Regions from separate parts of the Homo sapiens genome. Here all the other regions are linked to region 3. Evidence: promoter capture Hi-C in human tissues and cell types (Jung and others, 2019). All regions are on one chromosome and are shown on one strand. The core of a region is centred on a gene start or on the middle of the fragment in contact, and the rest is flanking DNA. Distances in the headings are between cores, read along the strand shown. Region 1 overlaps DYNC1I2 (dynein cytoplasmic 1 intermediate chain 2). Region 2 overlaps SLC25A12 (solute carrier family 25 member 12). Region 3 holds the start of METAP1D (methionyl aminopeptidase type 1D, mitochondrial).

The links. Contacts are between HindIII fragments. The study calls those that stand out against the background at their distance.
Region 1: a contact is called between a fragment that was not itself captured here and the fragment with the promoter of METAP1D in region 3, in 1 of the 25 tissues and cell types used here (IMR-90 fibroblasts).
Region 2: a contact is called between a fragment that was not itself captured here and the fragment with the promoter of METAP1D in region 3, in 4 of the 25 tissues and cell types used here (H1 embryonic stem cells, heart left ventricle, liver and 1 more).

What each region holds. Positions count from the first base shown.
Region 1 is chr2:171,745,855-171,749,682 of GRCh38, reverse strand. It overlaps DYNC1I2 (dynein cytoplasmic 1 intermediate chain 2), which reads right to left. Exons shown (of 18, transcript NM_001378.3): 17 at 3,756-3,828; 18 at 1-1,907. The coding sequence ends at 1,794. Among named protein-coding and RNA genes, the nearest start is that of DYNC1I2, 60 kb to the right of the region's middle. The HindIII fragment of the contact is 5,468 bases long and covers 1-3,828 here.
Region 2 is chr2:171,808,484-171,812,747 of GRCh38, reverse strand. It overlaps SLC25A12 (solute carrier family 25 member 12), which reads left to right. Exons shown (of 18, transcript NM_003705.5): 12 at 2,472-2,524; 13 at 3,062-3,142. Among named protein-coding and RNA genes, the nearest start is that of SLC25A12, 84 kb to the left of the region's middle. The HindIII fragment of the contact is 4,001 bases long and covers 1-3,484 here.
Region 3 is chr2:171,997,291-172,001,384 of GRCh38, reverse strand. METAP1D (methionyl aminopeptidase type 1D, mitochondrial) reads right to left here and starts at 1,432. Exons shown (of 10, transcript NM_199227.3): 1 at 1,376-1,432. The coding sequence starts at 1,415. LOC124905590 (a long non-coding RNA gene) reads left to right here and starts at 1,476. Exons shown (of 3, transcript XR_007087296.1): 1 at 1,476-1,706. RefSeq lists a silencer at 1,438-1,737. The HindIII fragment of the contact is 22,489 bases long and covers 1-4,094 here.

The DNA.
Region 1 (3,828 bases), core at 1,130-3,629, 250 kb after region 3:
TTCTTTCTTTCACAACTAAACACACCTTGAGGCTGAGGAACATGTGATTTGCCATATGATTTCCAACCTTTTCTTATCCATTATGTTTTAACACTTGTTTTCCCTACTTTTAGTCATTTTTACAAACTGAAGGTAAAGATACAGTAACTACATGAGTAGTGAGTACATGAATTTTTCTATATAAAGAAAGTGTGACTCTACTAAAATTGAAGTTTTGACTCACAGACACTGCTACAATGAGATAACTTGAGATATTGTCTTTGGTATATAATGGGCAATTATGGGGTATTAATTTATGAAACTGAATATAGAAAAGTAAAGAATTGCCTACTTTTCTATATTCCATTTCACATACTGATACCCCTTAATTGAGTAGAGCTGAAAGAAAATTCAGAAATCATTAAATCAAAACTTAATTCCTACATATAAAGAATGCGGCACAGACTTGGCTAAAATCACACTTCTCATAGATGCTTCAGCAAGAATCAGAGTTTGGGGCCAATAATTCCAGGTCAATTATTCCTTACACTATACACTACTCATTATTTGGAAATTTCTCTCCCAACAAATCTTTGTTACAATTATTAAAAGAAAAATGTTCACATTCTGTTTTCTAATCTCTCTTCCTAGTTCATGTTCTGTTGAATAAAAGACAGTTACACTTCAGAAGTACAAAAGGTTGGGATCAAATAAATAGACAATTTAAAGTAGATAAAATCAAGATCTGATCATAGTCCTTTCCTCTATTCCTGAAATTCACTGATTTCAATACTGATTCTTAGATATTTGTCACCTACCTTTCGGACTTGTAGACAATGCTGTGGCAACAGATCTCAAGATGTAGATTTTAATGCCAAAGTATGGGTCCATTTGAGCACTTTGCCTTTATGGCTACTGAAATCATGAAATCAATTTCTCTCAAAGATTTTACTCTCAGTGAGGTCACATACATAGTTCTTAATCAGTGAAAATTATAGGCAGCTTTCTATTTATCCTTTAAAGGAAATATGTCTTAGATGGAAAGAATATAAAGTAGTAAAGCAAAAGTTAACCTAGGGGAAATTTTTTCACCAACAGATTATCTAGACATCAATTCATAATGCACTGGGAGATCTATAGTATATACCACATGGTATATTTAGGGTACACAGCTCTATAGGATTTGAGATGGCTGCTCACAGCAGGAGCTTAAAGAAAGATATGGAAAAAATATATTTTATAAAAGATGGAAAAATTCAAGTTGTAAGGAGTAAAAATGAAAATTTGAAAAGTTAACGCATATTTGTTTTTATTTATAGGTAACTACCACATGAATTATAAAGACAACAAAGGATGTCAGAATGAACATGGATAGGTGTATGCATACTACGGCTAAGGAGAAACAATGTTCCTACATATTATGGGTAGTGAGAACATTATCTGTATAACAGGGAACTGTGATTATTTAAAAATATGCAGAACTTATTTCATCTGTGCTTTAGAAATAACTGTATACAGTGTTATAAGTTGAAAAGAACTCAAAATAACTAATACCAAATATACACCTATGTATTAGAATTCAAAAAAGCTGCTTTCTGTGAAGTCAATCAGCTATATTAAAAAATGACACAAATCCAAAACAAGATGCATGTTATATATAAAGGGACATTGTAAGTTTCCTTGCTGCATTAAACCCATGGTTTAATCCATGAAATTTCCTTTTAATTATCATTTAGACAGAAGCATGCAAATAGTCTCAGGATCTACTTAAGAACCTTTCCCAAATCCACTAGTTACACTCCCCTTTTCAGGAACTAAGCAGGTATTCGGGTAGCTGCTTCCTCCTCTGCATCAGCTCGGTTTGCATTAATTTCTGCAAGTGTTCGGCCAAACCGTGCCCATTCATCATTGCGGGGAACAGCAATCTGCTGTTAAAAGAAAGACAATGTTTTATATACAATGAAATAAAAGATCATTTTACCCACTATTATTCAGTTTGTTTTCAAATAATTTTTCTGTTAAAAAGTAATAATTGACCTGAATGGCCTTTCCATAATTACGGGGACTATAACAATGATTTACAACATTTCAAAACAAAAGACGGTGTTTGTGAAGTGTGTTGTGACAGCCTCAGAAATGACTTGGCTATTATCACCACCAATGCAAGAGAGAATAACAATGATGCTTTGTAAATATAACTCCTATGCACCATCTCATGGATTTTGCTGGAGAGGAATTCCTTAAAATTTTTTTTTTACTGTATTCTTGCAAAATTCCTAGTAAGAAACAGTGTTTGAAGCATGGTTCATAAGGGGGCTCGTTTCTTGTAAGTATTTTTCTTTGGAACATAAGGTAATCTTTCTTGATACCTTAACTCCTTCATCAAAAGCTGTGCTACTATTTACCACTTTAGTGCTGCACTGGTGGCAAAAGAGCCTTGTGATGCTTTACTTCAGAGGCAGCCCAATAACATATATATATATATATATATATATAATTTTTTTTTTTTTTTGAGACAGTCCCACTCTGTTGCCCAGGCTGGAGTGCAGTGGCACTATCTTGGCTCACTGTAACCTCTGCCTCCCAGGTTCAAGTGATTCTCCTGCCTCAGCCTCCCCAGTAGCTGGGATTACAGGTATGTGCCACCATGCCTGGCTAATTTTTGTATTTTCAGTAGAGATGGGGTTTTGCCATGTTGGCCAGGCTGGTCTCGAACTCCTGACCTCAGGTGATCCACCCGCCTCATCCTCCCAAAGTGCTGGGATTACAGGTGTGAGCCACTGCGCCCGGCCCCAATAACAAATATTTTTGATAACTGCCATTATAATATCATAGGAGTCTGACACTGTCATGTTAGGGCACAAACCACTCACTGTGGCAAATGGCTGTGCCTGTTTATAAATCTACACTATCCAGTAGGGTAGCTACTGGCCACATGTGACTGTGTATATTAAAATTAATTAAAATTAAAAATTCAGTTACGCAGTTGTAGTAGCAACACTTAGAGTGTTCAATAGCCATATGTGGCTAGAAGCTACCATATTAGTGCAGGTACAGAACATTTCCATTTGTGCAGATAGTTTAATTGGCTGCTGTAAATGATTAAATCTACCTCCCACCAGATCCAATTGCTAGAGGCCATGGGATATCCAGAGAGGAGAGAAATCATGAGGCATAGCAAAGGAAAGTGACTAAGGTCACTTTTTTAACCCCTAGCCAGGGTTAAAAAAGAGGAAATCCATCCTGGGCTTTGTGTTCAGCCAATCAGAGCAGCAAAGATGAGAGAGCTGCAGCTCATCCTATTGGATTCCATTACTGTGGCTTTGCATCAAGGCTTAAGAGTCAAGATGCACATTGCATAAAGTCACAGATGGTTCTCAAAAGATACTACTTTTGGTTTCTACTACCTGGCCCAAATTAATGAATACAGAAAAATAAATCTTATTTCAATATCAATAAAACCCCAAAGTCCACCTATAACTCCAAACTTCTCCCCAAAGAATTTCTAATTTCCAGCAATGCATGCTTCAAGAAACAAGGTATTTTCAATGTATTTATTGTATTACCCTCAAAATCTGTTGCATGGGAAACAGAACATTCGGTTTAGAAAGAAAATGTTTCAAGAGCTGCTTCTGTGGTAGAAAGTAAGTTTTATCTTTACAACCATATAGTTTAAACAACTCATAAACCTCAAAGCCTAGGGTTAGCCACAAAGATGCCTTTACTACAATGCAACTAAATCGATGTGTCAAAATTACAGGCAGGGAGTCCCATACCTCTCCCACATCGTATATAACAATCTGTCCTTCAGAATCACCCACAGCAATCTCTCTGCCAGAATGGGTCCAT
Region 2 (4,264 bases), core at 235-2,734, 190 kb after region 3:
CAGAGGTGTACAGTCAAAACAGAGAGATTTTCTTTCGCAGGGAATGTTAGCAGCCACTCTAGACTGAGCACAGTGCAGTTGGCATCAGAGGCAGCACTGCGCCCCATGCAGAATTTTCCCCACCCCCCGTTGTCTTTGTAGGAACTTGTCTCTTTGGAGAGAGAATGACTTTCATGTATGTGTTTTCACATTAGAATATAGGGTTTCCTTTGGGAGGGAGATTAATTTTTTAATCTCTTTGGGCGCCACTTGGGATTCTATGAAAATACTCTCTACATGCTCAAGTCCATGCCATTTATGTAATTTACTGTACTTGTTTGTTTGCACATACAAGCTCATTAATCCCTAGCCTATTCTGAGCTCTGTTGAACTATTTGGCTTAGAAATCTTCCTAAGAAAGACTGGGCCCGAACAGAGCTTTATGCTCATGGACAGGAGGAAAAAAACACCGCTGGTTAGCATTATATACAGGTATTCAAGCAAAAAATATAACTCCGATAAACTCATAATTGAAGTAGAGGGTCACAAGGATGTTCATTTTTAGCATTATATATAGAATAATAGGAGAGAGTTATTCCGAAATCAAACTAGGCTCAAGTACCCTGCTCTTGAGAATGAATGTGATGAGTTTTCCTCAAATATTCAGAACTGTAGTCTCTTTGAATTCCACCTGTACAGCATGTACCCTGTGGAAAGGCGTACAATATCCAGAATGCAGACCTTTCCATGTGAATGCTTGTTTTAACTGATTAAACCCTGCATATCCAGATTTTATTTAATGGGGAATCAAGGTTGAGTGGCATTAAGGTTGTTTTTTTCCTTGATATCTCCAATATTTCTTTGTTGAATAATGACCTTTCTCCTCTTTGGTATACTTTTAAATTGCAAAGAAAATGTCCCCTATTAAAAGGAACCTAGATATTTACTGCATAGTTTAGCCTTCTCAATGGATAGATGCTTACAGAAGATTTCATTTGAGAGAGATGTCATGTTTATTAAATGGATGCAATATAGCAAGTAGGGGAGGGGATTGTTGGTTTTATTCAGGATGTAAGCTCATAAAAGCAGTTCTTTAAATGAGAGACTTTTGTATTAGGGAGAAGATTGTAGGAGTCCTGTATGTGAGCACTATGATTATTGAGATTGTCATATATTGCTTGCAACTGGTCCATTATTCTGTCAGATGATTGACAAAATTGTTGACAGATTAGCTAAATTTCTTCGCAGGCAACAATGATAAAATGACACAAATCAGTACTTTATTAAATTCCATGAGCCTTATTGAGGCGAGTTGTAAAACAAATATGCATGCTGACATGGTTGTATGGGAGTTAGATTAAAAGTAATAGAGCCTGATAATCACGAGGGTTAGAAAGTTAATACTGCCATCTGCTGATTTGTTCTTTTAAATCAGTCTGCTACGCATGAAAGGTGTGTGAGGCTTTGTGTGTATCATTGATAATTCAGCCTGACTGACAGTAGCCTATATGTATGATTACTTGTGGCTCTCAACTTATGGAACTCAGCAGTATCCTCAAAGCAGGCTTAAGATCAGCAGTCAGCAAGCAGGCAAACACATATATAACTCCCCTTTGGCTGGATGATTTAAAGGATATAAAATGTTTATTGTTAGCATCTTTAAAAAATGTATGCAAAAAAGTATGCTAACAATTTGGATAAGCTGTGTGCTTTAGAAAGCTGAGCCCAACAGATGTTGAATTGTTTATTTTTTTCTTTTCCAGTTTACAACCAGCCTGGGGAATTTAACTTTCTAAGGATTATGATTTCCTTTGTTTTGAGGGGATTCTTTTAAAATGTCTTAAGCTTGACATATATTAGTCAATAAGAATACAACAGGCATATGTTTTTGCTTATAGGAGATACTCGTTAAACAATACTTAAAACTGCATTTTTCTTTGCAGTTTTGGCTTCCTTTTAAATAAATGAATATTGAATGCTGTGTTTCTCTGAAGAGAAGATTATGGGAGTTAGTATTCTATAATAACGAAGCCACTGTATGCCATTATGTAGGTAGCAAAATCTGGGTATGCTTAACAGCATGCTTTTCAGAGCTTTTCCAAGTGTACAGTATCTGTGTATGTTTATATGTTGTTGGTTGTAATAAGGGAGGGAATTTGGTTACATTGTTATTGGCAGTGTTCCCAGAATAGAGAAGACGCATGGCTCCGTTTCTTCTTCATGGACTTTTTGGGAAGTGTTGGATAACTAGGCTTTAAAGTAAGCATGCTTAAGAAGAGGATTTATAGCCTCAAGAAAACGTGACATTATACTGCATTTGTAAATAATTATTACATATGTATACAGAGTTTTAAGGATAATCTTTTTCCCATTTTAATGAAAACTCTGCAATGTTTGATGGGTAAATAATATGGGGGAAACTCTTTGTTGCTGGGCTTGTGTATTCATGTCTGGTACAGCTATATTGCTGATGATTCTGTCCCTTTACCTAGGTCTGATACCACAACTTATAGGGGTTGCTCCAGAAAAGGCCATTAAACTGACTGTAAGTTTATCTCTAACTGAATTTATGTCATTTGTTTAGATTACCATTAAGCCAAAAAGCTAAAATCAAGGCTAGGCGTGGTAGCTCATGCCTATAATCTCAGCATTTTGGGTGGTGGGAGGATCACTTGAGACCAGTTCTAAACCAGCATAAGCATAGTAAGAACTCAGCTCTACCAAAACAACAACAACAACAACAAAATTAAAAATTAGCCAAGTGTGGTGATTTATGCCAGGAGGCTGATGTGGGAGGATTGCTTGAGTCCAGGAATTTGAGGCTGTAGTGAGCTATGATCATGCCACTGCACTCCAGCCTGAGCAACAGAGTGAGACCCTGTCTCAAAAACAAAACTAAAATTGATGCTGCTGACACTGGCACACTGTCGCAGAATTTGTACAACTTTAATTTTACATGTAAGCATTTGATAATTTTAAATTTTATCATAAGACAAATATTTTGCTGACTTGGAAAAGCAACAGTATGCCAGAAGAGAAATGGTTGGGAATTTTGGTTAACTGATGTTGTCTTTCTAATTAGGTTAATGATTTTGTTCGGGACAAATTTACCAGAAGAGATGGCTCTGTTCCACTTCCAGCAGAAGTTCTTGCTGGAGGCTGTGTAAGTATTACTGTTAGGCGCTTCTTGTGACAAATACATTCCGTTGACCTTTTTGCACAGATATAATAGATATCTTAGTGGCATTTCTCTTGAACTCAAGGGATTCTAAGCAGGTTTTCTCAATAATCATATGGAATAAGTTTTAAATTTTATTGTAAAAGCTAACGGGTTTTGAGTGTAGAAAAGAGGTAGCATTTTCCGCCAGTTAGAATGGTGATCATTAAAAAGTCAGGAAACAACAGATGCTGGAGAGGATGTGGAGAAATAGGAACCATTTTACACTGTTGGTGGGAGTGTGAATTAGTTCAACCATTGTGGAAGACAGTGTGGCAATTCCTCAAGGATCTAGAACTAGAAATACCATTTGACCCAGCAATCCCATTACTGAGTATATACCCAAAGGATTATAAATCATTCTACTATAAAGACACATGCACACATATGTTTATTGTGGCACTATTCACAATAGCAAAGACTTGGAACCAACCCAAATGCCCATCAGTGACAGACTGGATTAAGAAAATTTGGCACATATACACCATGGAATAATATGCAGCCATAAAAAAGGATGAGTTCCTGTCCTTTGCAGGGACATGGATGAAGCTGCAAACCATCATTCTCAGCAAACTGTCACAAGGACAGAAAACCAAACACCACATGTTCTCACTCATAGGTGGGAATTGAACAATGAGAACACCTGGACACAGGGCAGGGAGCATCACACACTGGGGCCTGTCATGGGGTTGGGGGTTGGGGGTTGGGGGAGAGATAGCAGTAGGAGAAATACCTAATGTAAATGATGAGTTGATGGGTGCAGCAAACCAACATGGCACATGTATACCTATGTATCAAACCTGCACATTGTGCACATGTACCCTAAAACTTAAAGTATAATAACAAAAAAAGAGGTGGCATTTTCATCAGCTCTATCTCTTTGATGCTCCTAAAGCATTACCTTCCAGACTTTTTTAAAAGTTCTAATTCCTATGCCTTTTAAGAAATAGAGTACAGAAAATATAGTAGTGGATAGAGTTACCATTCATATATGTTAACTGGAACTTTAAAACAAGTGTGAGATGGCTGATTAATTGGGCCCTTATATCTTAGGTATAGGACTGAGTA
Region 3 (4,094 bases), core at 183-2,682:
GTATATTAGTAGAGACGGGGTTTCACCATGTTGGCCAGGCTGGTCTTGAACTTCTGACCTCAAGTGAGCCACCTGCCTCGGCCTCCCAAAGTGCTGGGTTTACAGGTGTGAGCCACCGTGCCCAGGCTCTCTTCACTTTTTGTACACACTCATCCTGCACTGTCTCTGCTGAACTTTACACACTGACTTCTATGGAGTGACCACGTCATGCAGTACCGAGAAATGAGTCTTAAAAAAAAAAATTAGAGTCATGTTCAAATGAGCAATCTGCCTCTTACCATTTATGCGACCTTAGTAATGTTACTTAACCTCTCTAGCCTTACTTTTCCCTTCTGCAAAGAGAAAATAATTCCTAACTCACTGGGTTTTTGTTTTTGTTTTTGAGACAGGGTCTGGCTCTATTGCCAAGTCTGGAGTTCAGTGGTACGATCACGGCTCACTGCAGCCTCTTGACCTCCCAGGCTCAAGCGATCCTACCACCTCAACCCCCAGAATAGCTGAGACTACAGGCATGTGTCACCACGCCCGACTAATTTTTAAAATTTTTTGTAGAGACGGGGTCTCATTCATTGAGTTTTAAAAGGAAGCAAGCATATGTAAGGCGCTTAACACAGTATCGTGTACTTAAAAGGCACTTAATAAACAGTAGCTGTTACTATGAAAATAATATTTACCTCACAAAACTGTTCCTACATGCCTGACGCTTAAGTAGCTCCTCAAAATATGATAGTTTTCCTCTTCCCCCGTCCTTGGAAAAACTTTCTAGTTCTTTCCAACAAAGATTCAGCACCTAGTTCAAATCCAACAAAGATTTCCCCAATTCTGCTGCAAAGGCATTTGTATATTTACTAAAATCTCAACACTCACGCAGGATAAAACCTACTTAGAACTACCCAGACATCCTTTCTTATCTTCTTAACTTTAAGTCACTGGAAGAAAACCATCACATTTTGCAAGTCCCCAAAAAGCATGCCTGCATAAAAGCTCTAGGGAAGGGAACCGGGTGTCCAGATGCATTTCAGAATTACCATAGGTTTCCTTGCTCGGCATACAGAATAAATGTTGGTTACACTAATGATACAACCGAAGTTGGGGAAAAAAACTTCAGACAATGGCCCGCAAATCTCAAGGAGTAATTGCGAAAAGATGCCACGTGGTGACGTGTTCTAGGCGGGTGATCAGTGAACAAATTTGTATGTGTGATCCTGTGGTGTGTGAATGTGTCATCGTGTGTGCCTGCGTGTGTTCGTAAACACTGAAAGTACAGTCGTGTGCGCCGAGAAGTCTGAGCGCGGGTGCGCATCCCTTTGGACCCGGGTGCGTACCTAGTGAGCAACCGTGCGAACCCTCACGGGGCTCTCCTCCACGCGCTTACCTCTGCGGACGAGCAGGTGGACGCCACTGGGCGCCGCCATGTTGGCGTCGGTCACGTGGCCGCGAGCACTCGCTCGCCGCCCCGCCCGCTGGAGCCGGCCAGTCGCAGCCCTGCCGAAGCCCTGAGGCGTCGAGGCCGCCCGAGGGGAGCGCGCGTGCGCGCGCGGGGCTGACTGCGGGAGCCCTGGCTGGGAAGCGGCTAGGGCACCCGGGCAAGCAGCAGAACCCGCGGCCGGCTGAGTCCTCTCCAGCCGCGAGAGGCGGGCTCCAGCCGCGGCTCGCGCGCTCGCTCTGAGCCCCCGCGCCCAGGTGGGATGGAAGAAGCCTGTCAGGTAAGCGTGGCATCCAATATTTATAGCATCAACATTTTGGTGCATGGAAACGTGAAGTTGGGCGGAAAAAATAAAGCACAATCTAGTGTTCAACATAGCACTTTGTATCGTCTGCCACTCTGTTGCAAATTATTCCCCTGGATTCAGTTGAAAGGTAAAATTTGGTTCAAAGTCACCAGCTCCCCTTTTGCTGTCCCAGAATCTACATTACTCAGCAGAGACTCCAGACAACACAGGATCTGTGTGTCGCTGCAAAATCTATTCTAGGTACCCCAGTGGGTATGTTCAGGAGACTTCTCTTTCTCCAAGGACGCCTTCTGCTTGGCAGTATTAACTGGAGTCTTAATCCTAAATTTGGAGTTTAAGTATAAAAGGATGACGCCTGCCAATTGCATTGCCAAGAGAAGAAGCCTACAGAAGGCCAATTGTGAATCAGATGAGGGAGCTGATGTATGCCTACTGATGACGGTGCCCATTTTTACCAAATTCACTGTCTCTCTTACCTGTGTTCTGGGGTAGATGCCATCCTGTCATGGACCAGGTGTTATTCATCTTAGTAGCCTCCGTGCCCGGCACAGAACCCGATACCCGAGGAATGTCAGGTGAAGCAATTGAACACTGCATGAAACCAGTCAAACTGAGAATGTAACCGTTTCCAGACTTTAAATGCAGTGAAGATTGATTAGGATTCTCAGTGAATGTGTGTGATGTCTTCTAATTAATTTTTAAGCACTACACACTCAGTGAATAATCTAGACAATTCAGAACAATTCAGAAATAAGGAACAAGTGCAAGCCCCTTCCTCGCCCTCTGTACATACCATAGTCCCACTCCCCAGTTAACCACCGTGTGCTCAATTGAGATCTTTGCCTTTTACACACAGGCAAATGTAAGTATTTTAAATAGAATCATATGACTTGCTTTTTCCATTCCAGTCATCATAGGCATCAAATCTTAGAACACTTAGTTCAGACTTATTCTTTTTAATGACTATATAATCTTGATATTTTTACTTTTAAAGAGAGTGAATGTTGGCATTTCATTAGAGGACACATGCTATAATTCTGGAAAACCTGGTTTTGGATGCTTTTGGGTCACCTTGAAAGATAAAGAGAAGTAATGCTTTCCATCAGGGTAAATAAGATGCACAAGAATGAGAATAAAATGTACTCCTACCTTTTGCAAACTCATTTCAATTCCAGGGAGAGCATTTTTGAATGTGGCAAATCTGTCCTCTGTGTAACTGAGGCCAGCAATCTGAGTGCAGCAAAGGAGCCTGAGAGTTAGCTGGCCACAGAGTCTTAAGCAGTGTACAGAAAAAAGAAATCTAGACATCCCTATTCCTTAAGGCATCAAGCCTAGTTTCAAACCCATCTGAAATAGAACACATGTTCATGTGACTTAACTCAGCCAACCCTTGGAAAATAAATGAATGCTTTATTCCCCTACAACTAAAAGGAAAAGGAAACACTATGAGGACCCAGGTGGCACCAGCAGTAGTGGAATCCAGTGAGGAAATCCTCAATAAGTTCGGCATGGAATGTAGATATCTGGGATGAGCTAGAAATGAAGCAAATATGAACTTGCACAGGTGATAGCTCATCCACTGACCCTGGATCTGGCTTCTCTCATACACATCCTTCTCACCGCAGAAGGGTTAAAAGCTGCCAGCACATGTCCGCCAAAACCATCAACTTATGGGATATAAGCTGGGTGTGGTGGCTCATGCCTGTAATCCCAGCACTTTGGGAGGCGAACGCAGGCAGATCACTTGAGGTCAGGAATTCGAGACCAGCTTGGGCAACATGGTGAAACCTGTCTCTACTAAAAATACAAAAATTAGCCAGGCATGGTGGTGCATGCCTGCAATCCCAGCTACTCAGAGGCTAAGGCGGGAGAATCACTTGAACCTGGGAGGCAGAGTTTACAGTGAGCCGAGATCCTGCCACTGCACTCCAGCCTGTGCCACAGAGGAAGATTCTCTCAAAAAAAAAAAAAAAAGGGATATATACATAGTGACCAACAAGATAAAGGGCTAGATCACTGATATCTAGGATCCCTTGCAATTTTAACATTCTGTGATCTTGAGCATTAGAGTGCTTTTATTTAGATGAGTAACCGCTACTGAGTCACTTCTCTACTCCATTTCTGTCCGTGCTCCTATCTGTGAAATGAAGGTTAATTATATTATGGCACTTCACTGATTTGAATTCTTACCATTAGTCAGATTTTGTACTTAGGATTCTTGAATAAAAAATTGAATAATTCGGCCGGGTGCAGTGGCTCACACCTGTAATTCCAACACTTTGGGAAGCCAAGGCAGGAGGATTGCTTGAGCCCAGGAGTTGGAGACCCAGCTGGGCAACATAGTGAGACCCCGTGTCTACA